Regions from separate parts of the Homo sapiens genome. Here region 2 is linked to region 1. The links are contacts of gene promoters, found by promoter capture Hi-C in blood cells and fetal thymus (Javierre and others, 2016). All regions are on one chromosome and are shown on one strand. The core of a region is centred on a gene start or on the middle of the fragment in contact, and the rest is flanking DNA. Distances in the headings are between cores, read along the strand shown. Region 1 holds the start of CD200R1L (CD200 receptor 1 like). Region 2 overlaps LINC02042 (long intergenic non-protein coding RNA 2042).

Region 1 (7,723 bases), core at 1,531-4,030:
CAGGGTAGTTGCAGGTGGGGGCAGGTCTAGTGTGCTCCGTGCCTGCCAATGCTCCAATGACAATGGCTGTTCAGCAAAGGGTAGGAGCGGGGTGCACTCACATTTGCAGCAGTGACAGGGCAGGGTGCATGTGCACACACATGGTAGTGTGTAAGGGAAGGGAAGGTCCCCTGGTGCACACGTGCACCAGCAAAGTAATGTTGGTGGGGGAGGGCTGGCAGCAAAGTGACACAAGTGAGCCTATGGATGGGGGAGGGTGCAGGCGAGCTGGTGTGTGTCTGCAGGGTCTGCTCTGCTGGAGCACTCTGCCAGTCAGGCATGGTCCACCAGTGCAGAAGTTATGATCTGAGCCGCCAAGAGGTACCTGGTACTTGGAGCCCTGGGAGAGGCCAGTAGACTGAGGGGTGCTCAGGTCAAACCAGCCCCATCTCATGGGCAAGACCACCCTGCAGAGTTAAGGTCCAACAGTTACCCTAGGGACAAAGTCTCCTGTGGCAGCAAGTTGAGCCTAAGGGTATGGGTAACCCTGGCTGTGCTTCACTACAGATGCTCTAGAACCAAACTCTCTGGGCTTCACACCAGCAGGAGCTCTGCTTCTATCACTTCTCTAAGCAGGTCTTTCTATCAGTTCAAGTGTCCGTGGTGGTCCAGGGGTCTTCTCCTGCTGGGATTCCAGAGGCCCATGGTGAAACTGGGTTGCTCCTTGCCTGTTTAACCCATCATCACCTTGCAGGAGTCACTGGGGGCCAGGAATGAGTTCTAGTGTTCCATAGCTCCATGCAGCATTTCCATCTTCCTCCCCCTTCAGCCCAGCATCTGCTTCTTCCCTCCATCTGCTCTCAGTGCCTTCCCTCTGAAGAAGGGCTAGAAGTGTGCCAGCCTTTCCAATGCCCGGGTGTCTCAGTGGAAGATATTCCTCCTGGCTGTTTCTAGTTGGCCATCTTGGAAGAGAAATCCCTGATTGAAGATCTGTTTGCAGCACAACCTATTTCATAACTGAAAACCTTGGGCTGTTGGGAATTTTAAATTCAGCCACACTTAATTGAGGCTTTAATTATGCCATTCAGTTCTAGTGCTTTGATACATAACAGCAGTATCATGGATACTGACCTCACCTTTGCTAACTGTGCACCTCAAAGCTCCTTGACTTAAATGATATTTGCATATCAAGCCCCTAGGCCTAACATTGCCTTCATATTCCACATGTGGTTCAGCCTCGTTATAGTACCACAGAGCCACAAAAATAAGACCCACATCAACTCAAGTTTGTGATCATTTGAAAAGGATGTCCCACATCACAGTTCCAGTTTCAGTTTCACATTATAGATGATATTACTTCGGCCCAAGACTTTGACCTTGAAGATGAATTTGCCCTTTTCCCCAGAAACGACTTCACCCTGGACACTGAGACCACCACCCCAGCAACATCCATAGGCTGGCTTTCCTAAGGAGCTAAAAAATTGGACACAGGACATTTATCATTTTACTTCCTTTGATATAAGAAATTCTGTTTCGTTTCCTGAGTTCACCATTTGCTTAAACTCTTGTTCTTTGCCAAAGTGTACCCCTTTATACTTCCATGCCTAAAGGAAAATCTGGTAGAGTGTATTACTCTTTGAGCCATTCTAATAATTAATGAGATTATTGCTTTCCCCAGGAAGCAACTGCCTCATATGGGTTCACCACTTAACCCCCTGGAGAGAGGACCTCCCATTGCCCATTACCTCCTCTGACACTTTCCATTCCAGTTTGCCACCACAACATCCTGCCCTGCACCCATGACCCACAGCTGCTACCTCTTCCTCTAGGTTACAAACGTCATTAATCTTTACATATACCTTACTTAACTAACTTCATACTCTCCAAAAATATAATTGTTGGACCTGCCACCTTGAACCCTGGAATGTACCAAGAGATTACCGTCACGCACACAAAAATATAGCTCATGTTTTAACATACTTTAAGTCAATCAGGATATTGTTAGAGATCTTGGAAATCCCGGATCTGTTTTCTTGGCTAAGGCCATACAATGTGAAACTTGGTTATGAACCAGCCTACAAGGACTCTTTATACTCCTACTTGTTTTCCTCCTTTTTAAGGAGAAAATAATAAAATTTTTGTGTGTGTGTGCTATTTAGGGCAATGTATGCACTACTTACTAAAACTCTGCTCTACAACTTAGGCCACCCAAATAATTCAAGTAATCAAGCTTAACACTAATGTGGAGATCAAGAAGTCAATTTTAATATAGTTTTCATGTAAAAAAAAAATGCCTTCTAGTCCCAGTTTTGAGCCCCTAACAGTTAGCTCCCCTTCTTGAATATCTGATTTAAGTCCCCCCAGCCTCTTCCCTTATCTGGTTCTCACACTGTATGTCACTATATACCTGCCCTAATTGCCCAGGGCTAAGTACCAGACAACTACAAACAGCCCCATGGACAGCTATGTCCTAGAGCTTGTGAAGTTATTCAAATTAGCTAAGGCACAGGGTTCTCAGGAAACCTAATTCTACTCCAATTACCATATATAAGGTACTCTCTACAGCTCCAGTGTGTTGTTACCCTGTCCCTGTGTGCAACCACTGTGTGGCCCTACATGGAATTCTTCTCTTGTTTGGAGCTATAAGTAACAAAGAGGTTTGCCTTTCACCTATCCAAGAGTCTTCATGTTGTGTCCTGTCATCAAAAGAATCTTTAATCTTATAAAACAGAAGGGTAGAATCTTTGCTTCGGTCTTAGTTTCCAGTGGTTTCCTGGCAACCTTTGGTTTTCCTTGGCTTGTAGAAGAAACATCACTCAGATCTCTGCCTTTTATCTTCACATGGTGTTCCTGTGTATGCGCCCAGTTTTCCTCTTTTTATAAGGACACCATAAAAAGCTAAGAAGTGCAAAAGAAGAAAAAAAGAATAAACCAAAGACGCCAGTCATATTGGATTAGGGACCAATCTATTTCAGCATGGCCACATCTTAACTAATTATATCTCCAATGACCCTATTTCCAAATAAGGTCATCTTCTGAGGTACTGGGGATTAGAATTTCAACAAATAAATGTTGGGCGGGGGTTGCACTATTCAACCATGACTGAAAGTAGTTATTAAAGACACACATATGACTATCTTATAACCCAACAATTTAATTCCTAGGTGTATATCCAAGAAAATGAATGTACACATAGACCAAAAATTATGTACAAAACAAGAATGTTCTTAGAAGCTTTATGTTAGCCCCAAACTGGGATAATGTAAATCTACAGAGAAATTGATGAATAAATTGTGATATAGTTATTGAAAATTTACTATACAGCATTAAAAATTGAAATTTGCAAAGAATTTCATGCATGTGAAGTTCAAAAACTGTCAGAATGAATTAAAGCTATTAGAAGTCTGAGTAGTGTTTACTCAACTTCTCTGGAGGAGATGATATCAGCAGAGAAGGAACAAAGGACACTTTGGAACAAAGGACACTTTGAATAATAATTATCAACATCTTGGTTTTGGAAGTAATTAGATAAGCGCATATATAGGTAGAAATTCATCAAACCATACACTCAAGATTTGTTCATTTTACCATATGTAATTTATACTCTCAAAATGCTACTTTTTAAATGAGTTGTTATATAGTTTATCTTGCTACTTCAATGTTGTGGGAGAAGCAATGAGTAGTAAGCATTGGCTTTTTTGCTTTATTACACAGCAAAACTCACTGACATTTCCCATCAGTGGTTAATCAGTCAAAAACATATAGAATGACAGCAAAAATTAAAGATAAGCAAGATAATGAAGAAATATGTTTTGCAATCCTGTTGAAGACAGAATAAGCAAAAGTGACCAAGAGAAACAGATTCACCAAGTCTGTTGATTGATTTAAAGTGGATTTATGTTTAAGTAGAAAACCACTCCAAAAGCATACTTTAGGGAAGATGTCAGCTCCAAGATTACTGATTTCCATCATTATCATGGTGTCTGGTAAGTCTGATACTGTGACATTTTCAGCTGAAAATAAAGCTTTCTTTCAATGATTATGAGGATACTCTTGATCTACTTACTTATAAGGTGTTTCTTGACTTGTCCTAGCAGCAGTGATAAATGTGTACATTATCCAGCAAAACTCCTTCTGAGTTGCCTTATCCCAGTGGTGTACTGACTAGGTGACTGGCTGAATTCAGAGTAATTGGGGGCTGGGATTGAAGTGAAACTAAAATTTTGTGACCTAAAAGTGGTCCTGGGCTGCTTTTGTTGGTAGATTTTTAAAATTACTGATTCAATTTGAGAACTTGTTATTAGTTTGCTTAGGGTTTCAATTTCTCCTGATTCAATCTTGGGAGGTTGTGTATTTTCAGGAATTCATCAATCTCTTCTAGATTTTTCTAGTGTGTGTGCATAGAGGTGTTTATAATAGTCTCCGAGGACATTTTGTATTTCTGTGAGATCAATTGTAATGTCACCTGTGTAATATCTGATTGTAGTTATTTGAACCTCCTCTTTTTTTTTCTTTGTTAATCCAGCTAGTACTCTATTGACCTTGTTTGTCTTTTCAAGGAGTCACCTTTTGGTTTTGTTGATGCTTTGTATAGATTTTTGGATCTCAATTTCATTCAGTTCTGCTCTGATTTTAGTGATTTATTTTCTTCTGCTGGCTTTGGGGTTAGTTTATTCTTGTTTTTCTAGTTCTTCTTCAACTTCCTCTTCTTTTTATTTATTTATTTACTTATTTATTTTTGAGACGGATTTTAGCTCTTATTGCCCAGGCTGGAGTGCAGTGGTGCCATCTTGGCTCACTGCAACCTCTGCCTCCTGGGTTCAAGAGAGTCTCTTGCCTCAGCCTCCTGAGTAGCTGGGATTACAGGCACCCGCCACCACACCTGGCTAATTTTTGTATTATTAGTAGAGTCAGGGTTTTACCATACTGGCCAGGCTGGTCTTGAACTCCTGACCTTGTGATCCACCCCCCTCAGCTCCCAAAGTGCTGGGATTACAGGCGTGAGCCACCACGCGCGGCCTTTTCTAGTTCTTCTAAGTGTAATGTTAGATTGTTAATTTGAGATCTTTCTAACTTCTTGATGTAGGTGTTTAGCACTATAAACTTTTCTCTTAATACTGTTTTTGCTGGATCTCAGGGATTTTTATATGTCATGCCTCTGTTTTAATTAATTTTAAACAGTTTTTGATTTCTTCCTTAATTTTATTGTCTACCCAAAACTTATTGAGGATCAAGTTGTTTAATTTCCATGTAATTGTATAGTTTTCAGAGACATGCTTGATATTGATTTCTATTTTTATTCCACTGTGGTGTGAGAGTATGGTTGGTATGATTTTGACATTTTTTAATTTATTGATACTTGTTTTGTGGTTGAGCATGTGGCTGACCTCAGAGCACGTTCCATATGTAGATGAGAAAAATGGATATTCTGTGGTTGTTGAGTGGAGTTGTCTGTAGATGTCTGTTAGGCCCAATTGATCAAATATTACATTTAAGACCAGAATTCCTTTCTTAGTTTTCTGCCTTGATGATCTAACACTGTCTGTGGGATGTTGAAGTCTCCAACTATTATTAAGTGGCTAAGTCTTTCCACAGGATTAGAAATACTTTTTATTTTTATTCTGAGTGCTCCAATGTCAGGCATGTATATATTTAGGATAGTTAATTCTTTTTTTGATTTGAACCCTTTATCATTATGTAATGCTTTTCTTTGTCCCATTTTTATTGTTGTTCGTTTAAATTCTGTTTTGCCTGATATAAGAATAGTGACCCCTGCTCTTTTTTGTTTTCCGTTTGTGTGATAGATCTTTTTCCACCCCTTTACTTTCAGCCTGTGTGTGTTGTTAGGTCTGTGTGAGATAGGTCTCTGGAAGACAGCAGATGGTTAGGTCTTGTTCTTTTATCCAACTTGCCACTCTGTGCCTTTTAAGTGGCACATTTAGGTTAATTCCATATTAATATTGATATGTGAAGTCTTGACTCTGTTGTGATGTCATTAGCTGGTTGCTTTATAGTCTTGATTGTGTAGTTTCTTTATAGGGCTATGTCTTAAGTGTGTCTTTGTAGTAACAGACATTGTTCTTAAATTTCCGCATTTAGAACTCCCTTAAGGATCTCTGGTAAGATTGGCCTAGTGGCAATGAATTCTCTTAGTGTTTGCTTGCTTAGGAAAGATTGTATTTCTCTTTGCTTATGAAGCTTAGTTTGGAGAGTATGAAATCCTTGGTTGGAATTTCTTTTCTCTAAAGATACTGAAAATAGACCCCAATCTCTTCTGGCTTATAAGCATCCTGCTGAGATGTCTGCTCTTAATCTGATGGGGTTTCTTTGTAAGTGAGCTGGCCCTTTTCTCCAGCTGTTTTTAAGATTTTTTTATTTCACATCGACCTTGGAAAGTCTAATGACTATGTGTCTTGGAGATGGTCATCTTGTGTAGTATCTTGCAGTTGTCTGAATTTCTCAAATTTGCACGTTGACCTCTTTAGTGAGATTGGGTAAATTTTTGTTGACTATATCCTCAAATATGTTTTCTAAGTTGCTTACTCTCTCTTCCTGTCTAGGGCAAAGTTTAGGTTACCAGGAGGCCCACAACTCCTTGGAGACCCGCTGGTCCTCTGAGCTTGGCAGACTCAGAGCAGGTTTAACAAAGATCACATGCTTCTGAGGGAACAGGACAAAAGGCAAAAGCAGAACTACTGATAAGGGTCCAACAAAGATCACAAGGCAAAGGGCAAAAGCAGAACTATGGATAAGGGTCTATGTTCAGCGGTGCATGTATTGTCTTGATAAACATCTTAAACAACAGAAAACAGAGTTCGAGAGCAGAGAACCGGTCTGACCACAAATTTACCAGGGCGGAGTTTTTCCCCACCCTAGTAAGCCTGAGGGTACTGCAGAAGACCAGGCGCATCTCCCGCATAAGACAGACATTCCCGGAGCAGCCGTTTATAGACCTTCCCCCAGGAATGTATTCCTTTCCCAGGGTATTAATATTAATATTTCTTGCTAGGAAAAGAATTTAGTGATATCTCTCCTACTTTCACACCCATTTATAGGCTCTCTGCAGGAAGAAAAATATGGCTCTTTTTGCCCGACCCCGCAGGCAGTCAGACTTTACTTACGGTTGTCTTCCCTTGTTCCCTAAAAATTACTGTTATTCTGTTCTTTTTCAAGGTGCACTGATTTCATATTGTTCAAACACACATGTTTTACAGTCAATTTGTACAGTTAACACAATTATCACAGTGGTTCTGAGGTGATGTAAATCCTCAGCTTATGAAGATAATAGGATTAAGAAATTAAAGACAGGCATAAGAAATTATAAAAGTATTATTTGGGAACTGATAAATGTCCATGAAATCTTCACAGTTTATGTTCCTCTGCCACGGCTCCAGCTGGTCCCTCCATTCAGGGTCCCTGACTTCCCGCAACACTGCTGTGGTGCCTGTAGCCTGAGATTCTTTTCCCAGAACATGGTGGTGAAGACCACCCAGCTTGTGTGCTCTCCTGACCAGTTTTCCCTCTGATGTTGGTCCCAGGAGCAGGCCCAACCAGCTAGTTTTGTCCCAAGCCTTCTGTGTCTAGATCACTGAGGTGTTCCAGATGTTGTGGGCCGTGGAGATCCCTTGGGCAGAAGCTGAAGCTGGCCAACAGGCTAAACCCTTACTTGATCAGTCTCACAGATAAAGGGATGCCCAACTACTATGCCAAAACACAAACCTACTCCTTACTCTTCTCAGTGTTC
Region 2 (7,723 bases), core at 2,590-5,089, 110 kb after region 1:
ATATTTTTCCTAATGACTGTGCAAACTCATTATAAAATCATAATTTTGAGGTTTCATACCCATCATGAGTCAAGATAGGTTAGTTTTGGCAAAATACATCTTCTTGGCTTTAGAGACTGTGATCCATCTTTGTGGCATCAAAGAAGGGCAGCATAAGTGTTGACTGGAATCCCAAACTTTTCACCTCCCTTTGATGCCAAGCCAAGCCTAAGCTTTCATCAAAAGTACATAAATTCTTTTATATGGTGTAATTAGGAGTTTGTAGCATAATTTGCAACAGAGGTTGCTTTACTTGCATGCTTTTTCCCTTCCTGGATCTTTTTCCCTGACCTGAGAGAATGAAAATAAATCTCACATCATCTTCACCAATTTTCTCTTCATCCCACCTGGATGTGCTTCCTCTTAGGTTACCAACTGCCCAACAGATACGTCAACTGCAAGATGTTCTATCAAGCAATTCACTACTTCCTCCCTTCTCAATCTTCAGGCTCTGCATATGGAAATGAACATTTCATTATGACCCTATGACCTACAAAGCTCCCTCTCTGTCACTCCTTATCATCTTTCCTAGGGAGGCAATCAAAATGAAATGATTTTAAGATTCTAGCACTCCCAACTCTAAGGTAAATAGCATCTGACATCTTCATTAAGTCCATATTCAGTTTTTAGGTCTTCTGGTTGAAAGAAGAATAATCTAGAAGGACAATTAATATTTAAAAAAGTCTTTCCCCTATAACTTAATATTGTAGGTGGTAGTACTTTTTAGGACAGCACAGACTTGGTTTGGAAATCTCAAAATAACAAAAGGTGGTTTAATTTTCTTACCCCTATGTCAAGTTTTACCTGTTTTTTGTTTGTTTGTTTTAATTCTCTAAGTGGGGATAGAACATTTTGTGGTATGAAAAACTATGAAAGATCTTACCTCTGAAAAAAACTCCATTTGAATGAACCCTAATTTAATGGACAGGTGAAAGGTCAGCAACCTAGAAAATTGGAGTGTAGTCACAGAATTTACAACACCTTCTAACATTTCTGGGCCTAAATTTCACGTGTATCTAAAGTAGAAAGAATGGTCCCCAGCCCTTTCCAGAGTTTTAATGAAAGAGTCTATTGCTTTAAATTAAAGACACATCTGCTAGGTTCCTTTAACAGCATCAGAGTTGATGTTCAAACATATTATTTCAAAATTATTTTGCGAAATGTTGAGGTTATCTGTCTTTAAAGTGCTGTTGCAAAAGTATATTGTTGAATTTGTAACTCACAGCTAGAAAGCGATATAAATCTTACAAGTTGCACTGAGATCTTTCTAGATGAAAATGATGCAGCAATCATGAACTCCTGTGTTATCTGTCACTATCTCATAAGTCACATGATTTGAAGAGAAGATCATTCGGAGCAGTGGAAAAATGAAATCAAACATAGCTGCTACCTCAGATTGAAGAGATGTCCTCTCCGATTCTTTAAAGTATTTCCTATTCTCCTACCCACCTCCTCTGTTGTTTGCAAGACTCAAAAAGATAAATTTATAGTGAAATAAGAATCCTCCAACTTACATATTAGAGCTTCTGCAATTAAAGAAAAACAGAAATCAGGCTGGGCGCAGTGGCTCACGCCTGTAATCCCAGCACTCTGGGAGGCCAAGGTGGGTGGATCACCTGAGGTCAGGAGCTTGAGACCAGCCTGGCCAACATGGCAAAACCCCATCTTTACTAAAAATACAAAAATCAGCTGGGTGTGGTGGTGGGTGGCTGTAATCCCAGCTATTCAGGAGGCTGAGTCAGGAGAATCCCTTGAACCCAGGAGGCAGATGTTGCAGTGAGCCGAGATGGCACCACTGCACTCCAGCCTGAGTGACAGAGTGATACTCTGTCTCAAAAAGAAAAAAAGAAAAAGAGAAATCTATGGGTGAAGACAAATGGAATGGCAATACCTTGGAGTAGCATTTACTAATTCAAGCCATATAAACCATACTAAGGTTGTCAGCCCAGAGGGGAGTCCATCTGCTATGTAGATGAGAGAATGCGACCAGGAAAGTCAGGACACAAAGCCATGATTCTTTCAACTTTTTGGCACTTTAATAAGTGAATTGCATGTCCTGTCTTCTCCATGAACTCAGCAAAGCTACAACTAAGCTCCTCATCTTGAGAGTTCACCATGTGCCCACTTTGACCTATGGATGGGCCCCTTGGCACTCTACCTTTTCAGTGTCCTCAACTGCACAAACTTCCTGGGCTGCACTGACTGCTGTACCCAGGCAATTTTTTGGGAGCTCCAATGTCTTGTCTAGCACATGACATGAGGCTGTAGCATGTTCTTTCAAGTATTAGTGCTAAAGAGGTCCCATTCTACTTTCTCTGACTGATCAGGTCACTGTTTTCAGCTACCTGGCCCTTCTAAGTCAGGGTCACTAGAGTATTGGGAGGTTTGTAACTTCTTCATTGGTGTCTTGTGTTTTCCTGTCTTTGAACTTGAGGAAAGCTGGCCCTGGATGTTCACAACATCAACCAAGCAATGAAAACCACAGCACCCTACAGGAAATTCTGCATTTCTCTCAAAACATGCAAAACACAAAATTGGGTGGAACCACAGAAGGTTATGGATAACTCACTACAGTTTGGACTTTCAAAGGTAAAATGTAATATTTGACTCATGGCTATCACTTCTGGGAGATTTTTCAGGAGAGATATCTATGTTTCTGAAAGTCTGTATGCTTGCCTTTATTTTTTCTAACTTACTATAAATTCTTGTCAGTTCTGGACATTTTGGTTAAACTTGTTTCTACTGTTACTTGTTCATGCTGTCGACTAATAAAAAAGACAGTGTTTTTAAGACTGTGCTTCATGGAGCCCTAGGGGCTTGAAAAAGCATTTCAGGAGCTATTTTGGGGCCAGGGAGAGGCTGAGTGAGTCAGGAACCAGATCATGCTGTTTCTGTCACCAAATACAAACACACACACACAGATACAATATCAAGTATAAAATCAGACACAAACTCCAATAAAAATAATCCCTTGTATATACTATAAATAATATGTATTATATATATGTGTATATATACATATATGTGTATGTATATATCTATATGTATACATGGTATATATACATATATACTATGAGGTTGTATATATACTATGCCTCACATAGTATATACACACATCTATAGCATATATGTGTATATACTCTGTGTGTGTGTGTATATATATATATTTGTTTTTAAACTACGAAACTGTACATAAAACTTTGGAGAAACGAGTTCGTTAATTAAAATGAGTTTGAAAATCTCTGGGTCAACTATCCAAAAATGTGTATATAGTTGAATACAATCCATGAAATCCTAAGTAATATACCAGTAGAGAATAGAATTTGCAAGATTACATTCCTTTTAATCAAGTTCTGTGCACATTAGAAAGAATTTAGTACAGACAAAAAGCCATGCTCATTCATTTAGACATTCATTCTGCTACTATTTACTGACACTTTTTTTGTATGTGTTCCAGGCCCTGGGAAAACTATCCTACTTTTGTGAGATACTATTGTTCTACCTGTAATGCAAGTGAACAGATCTTAATAAGGACAAATAACAATTTTTTAAATGTTTACCATATTTTCTCATTTGTTCCTTTCATCAAGCATCCAACCTGCCAGGTAATTATTATTATCTGCTTGCTTCAAATAAGGAAAGTAAACCTCAGAGAAATTAAGCAATTTTTTCATGGTCAGTCATCCAGTGAATAGCCTTTCAACTCTTTCCTAACCCTCTCCAGTTTGTCAGCTTAGCTGTGGGAGCTCAGACAGGGCACACTCTCTCTGAGCTCAGCTGAATCACATATAAAATACATGTAATATCTTTCCTATCTCATATGGTTGCAAAACTTTAAAAGAGCTAATATGTGATAGTGCTTTTCAAGGCAAAAATCAAGCCATATTATACTGGTACCAGGTGATGAATTATTTTTACTGGACTTTGTGCTTGATTTTTCTACCCTGGGCTTTGCTAATCAGAAGGTCAGAATCAATCATTATACAACTATGGATCAAAAGCAAGGCATGGGCAATTGAAAAGACCACAAGTTAGAACAATGCTTCTCAAAATATCTGGGATTAAAAACCAGCTAGTTCTTTTAAATTCCCAGTTCCTCATGGATGAATACACAAAATATAAACACCTCTTTTTTTGTCATTAGCTTTAAGGGATTTAAAATTATTGCATTCTAAATGCAATTCTCAATTTCGGTATGAATCTTGTCATGAACTGATAAGAAACAGTTGTCAGTAGTCTGTGAACACACTTTCAACACTACTGGGTTAGGATATCCTCAAATTGGTTGAAGTTTGAATTTTCAAAATTCTTTACAGAGTTGTCCTTGAACCTACAAATATGAACCAAAAATCAGCCCCCAAAAAAAGAGAATGGGAGAAGAAAAAAGGTTCTTCACACTCTATATCAGGTTCCCTAGTCTAGAGAAATATAAAGGGGAAATTTTGTCCAAAAGCAGTCATTTCATGATTTATGTAATAGAGATGCTCCAACCAAGGACACCATAAAACCAATTTGTGTAAAGCAGGTTTTATGTATATCCATCAGAAAACTCCTCTAAATGCTTCAACTAAAATTGAGAGGTAGTTGAAGGATTTTGCTTTCTCCTCTATAGAGTGAGAGGTTATATTAATATTCCTTCTAATATTTTGTGCTTTTGCATTGGAAGCTAACTCAGTGCCTGGGTATTAGAACAAACCAGCAGAATTTCTCTGGTAGGAACTTTCTGCCCAGAGACCTCTGTTCTATTGCTTTTCCCTTGCTGTTACTCACAACCGCGTGTAACAATCTCATACCTTAGTTCTCTTCTTTTTTCCTGATATTTAGAATGCCTAGTAGAGCCGCAAATGGCATGTCATATTTTGTCAGGAGATGGCATTGACTAATGTGTGCAGAAAACACCCCTGAGTTAGATACTTTGAGTCATGTACGATGACCAGTTCAGTATTTAACACTTGACAAAGCTCAAAGCTGTTTACATGAAATGTATATTTTTGGCTTCTGGTAGTCTATGCTGCTATTACGGAAGGTTATAGTTAGCAGGTTTAAGAAATATTTTTTTGGGCTTTCTAGAATGAATAATTTGAATGGTACCAGCAGCAATTCTTTGTGAGCTGAAGGCTTGATGCAGTCTCTTAGGACCTGTCCTTTTAGAAGTAAGAGCGGGTTCTTAGAGGCCACATCCTGCCTTTCAGATAGAGATATCAGCTTCTACCAGGAATAGTTCCTTTCATACTACACTTAAGTAGGCAGTGAGAATAATCAGCACGATTGAAACTACCTTTGCAAAATTATGACTGAGACAGCGAAAGAGATCTAACTTAACTGACTCCATCTTGCTTCTAACCTCCATGCTGTCTTTTTCATTCCTGGGCGTAGGACGAACTAACTTTGAGAGAAATTTAGTTTATAGTTTAAAAAAAAAGATGGTAACAGCCCTTTCCCAAAGCAGACCTCCTTCTTGCCTGGGGACTAGACCAATATTAGCCAGAAGGTTAGAAATTACGGTTTAGGAGTCATGCAGCTGGAGGCTATAAGAATCTGACTCCCTAAACTGCTCCTAAGATCAGTGCTTGAGATACTTTGCAGACCCTGCACTTGATGGATCAGCTGGCACCACCCAAATCAATAAACCGGCTCATCTGATCTTGTGGCACCCACCCAAGAACTGACTCAGCACAAGGAGACAGCTTCGACTCCCTGTGATTTCATCCCTGTCAACCAGCACTCCTGGCTCACTGGCTTCCCCCCACCCAACCAAGTTATCCTTAAAAACTCTGCTCCCTGAATGCTCAGGGAGTTTGATTTGAATAATAATAAAACTCCAGTCTCCTGCACAGCCGGCTCTATAAATTACTCTTTCTCTATTGCAATTCCCCTGTCTTGATGAATCGGCTCTGTCTAGGCACCGGGCAAGGTGAACCCCTTGGGTGGTTACACTAGCATTGGTTTTTGTTTGCCACTGCAGCATTAATTATGTGTTTTTTATGGCAATAGAAATTTTTTTTTACTGCCTTTCCTCAATGTTACATGAAGACATATTTCACAAGTAGGCCAAGTACAAAGTAGGAATAGAAGCTAGAATGGAATCATAGACCAGATTCTTACATAGATCACATCAGCCAGGCTGAGGCTCCATCTGTGTGCATGGCACGGCACAGCTGCGTTGGTTGCTTATAGCTAGCATCTGTTCTGATTGGTTGGTGCCTGTGGCTTTTCAGTTGCTCAGAGTTTTGAATACCAACCCTGGGTACACAGTTATCTCTGAAAGCTAAAATGGTGAAATATAACACATAATGAATGCAATGAGCCAGCTCTAGACACAACCAAGAGAATTCCCGTAACTGGGAACCTGAGAAAGTATAAAAGCACTTAATTGAAGGTGTAAATGAGAGAAAGCAGGTTTGAAATGCAACCAAAACAAAGCCCACACATAGACAACTGTATTTATAAGTTGTTTCTAAATGGGAATGGAACGGTGTTTTTCCGGGAATCTAGGGAACAGTCTCTCTACGGCGACTTTTCTCATGTGAGAAAACAGACATTTAGCAGAAAACCAGAAAATGTTCATTGGCTTCGGTGAACTTTTATTCCAAGTTTCAATGAGGGACCCTGTGCAGAGGCTTGGGACACGGAGACCTCCCTCTGCTGCCTTTAAGGAAGGTCATTAAAAAAAAAAAAATTCCGTTTTTTTTTTTTTTTTAAAGACGGAGTCTCGTTCTGTCGCCAGGCTGGAGTGCAGTGGCCTGATCTCGGCTCACTGCAACCTACGCCTCCCAGGTTCAAGAGACTCTCCTGCCCCAGCCTCCTGAGTACCTGGGACCACAGGCGCCCGCCACCACGCACAGCTAATTTTTGTATTTTTAGTAGAGATGGGGTTTGAGCATGCTGGCCAGGATGGCCCCGATCTCTTGACCTCGTGATCCGCCCGCCCCAGCCTCCCAAAGTGCTGGGATTATAGGCGTGAGCCACCGCCCTTCTAACTTTTCTATTGTACCACACTGATGGCAAGGAAGGGCGGTAGGAAAGCCTGCCAAGGAAAGGGAGGACCGGCCTGCATATTCTTAAGCGCTGTGGGACACTGTTCTGTAGACGTTGCCCATCCCATTGCTCTCTCAGGGAGGGATGAGCCACGGCCAGGAGCAGCTCCTGGTCATCTACTGTACCACGTGTGCAGAGGGAAGACACACTCCCAGAGAAGAAAATGCTGGGAAAAAGAGACCACAGCCTTTGTATGGTGGCTCAATGTAAGTACTTCTTGACATGTCCAGTTGTACAGCTCCTCTTTGGGGTTGGAGCGCTTTGCTTTCCAGGGTGTAGATTGGGGTCTGGGGAAGTGGTGAAGTGGAGTGAAACTGGAGGCCTGGAGCTCCCCCTAGAGGCCAAATGTATTTTACCCTGACTCAAGAAAACCTGGAGCTGGAAGCTTGGCTCATCAAACCTAAAGTAAGAGTAAGAATCAGCAGTATTGTCGGCACTACCCCGGGAAGGGAGAGATACTAAACCTAGTGAACAGTGCAGGTCCGGAATCCTTTATGTGAAGTTCTAAAACTCAAAAAACTTTGAAAATGGAAACTCTTTTGAGACCTATTTGGCAACAACGTTTACCTGCAATATGAGGACATAGTCTTTATTATCTTAATGTGAGTATTTTTATCTTTTATGACAGATATATTAATTAATGTGT

What was found. Contacts are between HindIII fragments. The CHiCAGO score rates a contact against its expected background, and 5 or more counts as called.
Region 2: a contact is called between a fragment that was not itself captured here and the fragment with the promoter of CD200R1L in region 1, in 2 of 17 cell types (M1 macrophages and M2 macrophages). The highest score is 7.0, in M1 macrophages.

What each region holds. Positions count from the first base shown.
Region 1 is chr3:112,841,921-112,849,643 of GRCh38, reverse strand. It overlaps CD200R1L (CD200 receptor 1 like), which reads left to right and starts at 2,780. Exons shown (of 8, transcript NM_001199215.3): 1 at 2,780-3,019; 2 at 3,694-3,965. RefSeq lists a silencer at 4,686-4,845. The HindIII fragment of the contact is 1,004 bases long and covers 2,212-3,215 here.
Region 2 is chr3:112,734,599-112,742,321 of GRCh38, reverse strand. It overlaps LINC02042 (long intergenic non-protein coding RNA 2042), which reads left to right. Exons shown (of 5, transcript NR_110017.1): 2 at 407-623; 3 at 1,311-2,628; 4 at 3,497-3,644; 5 at 5,626-5,873. It overlaps MIR9900 (microRNA 9900), which reads right to left and starts at 5,233; the gene lies at 5,141-5,233. The HindIII fragment of the contact is 7,250 bases long and covers 215-7,464 here.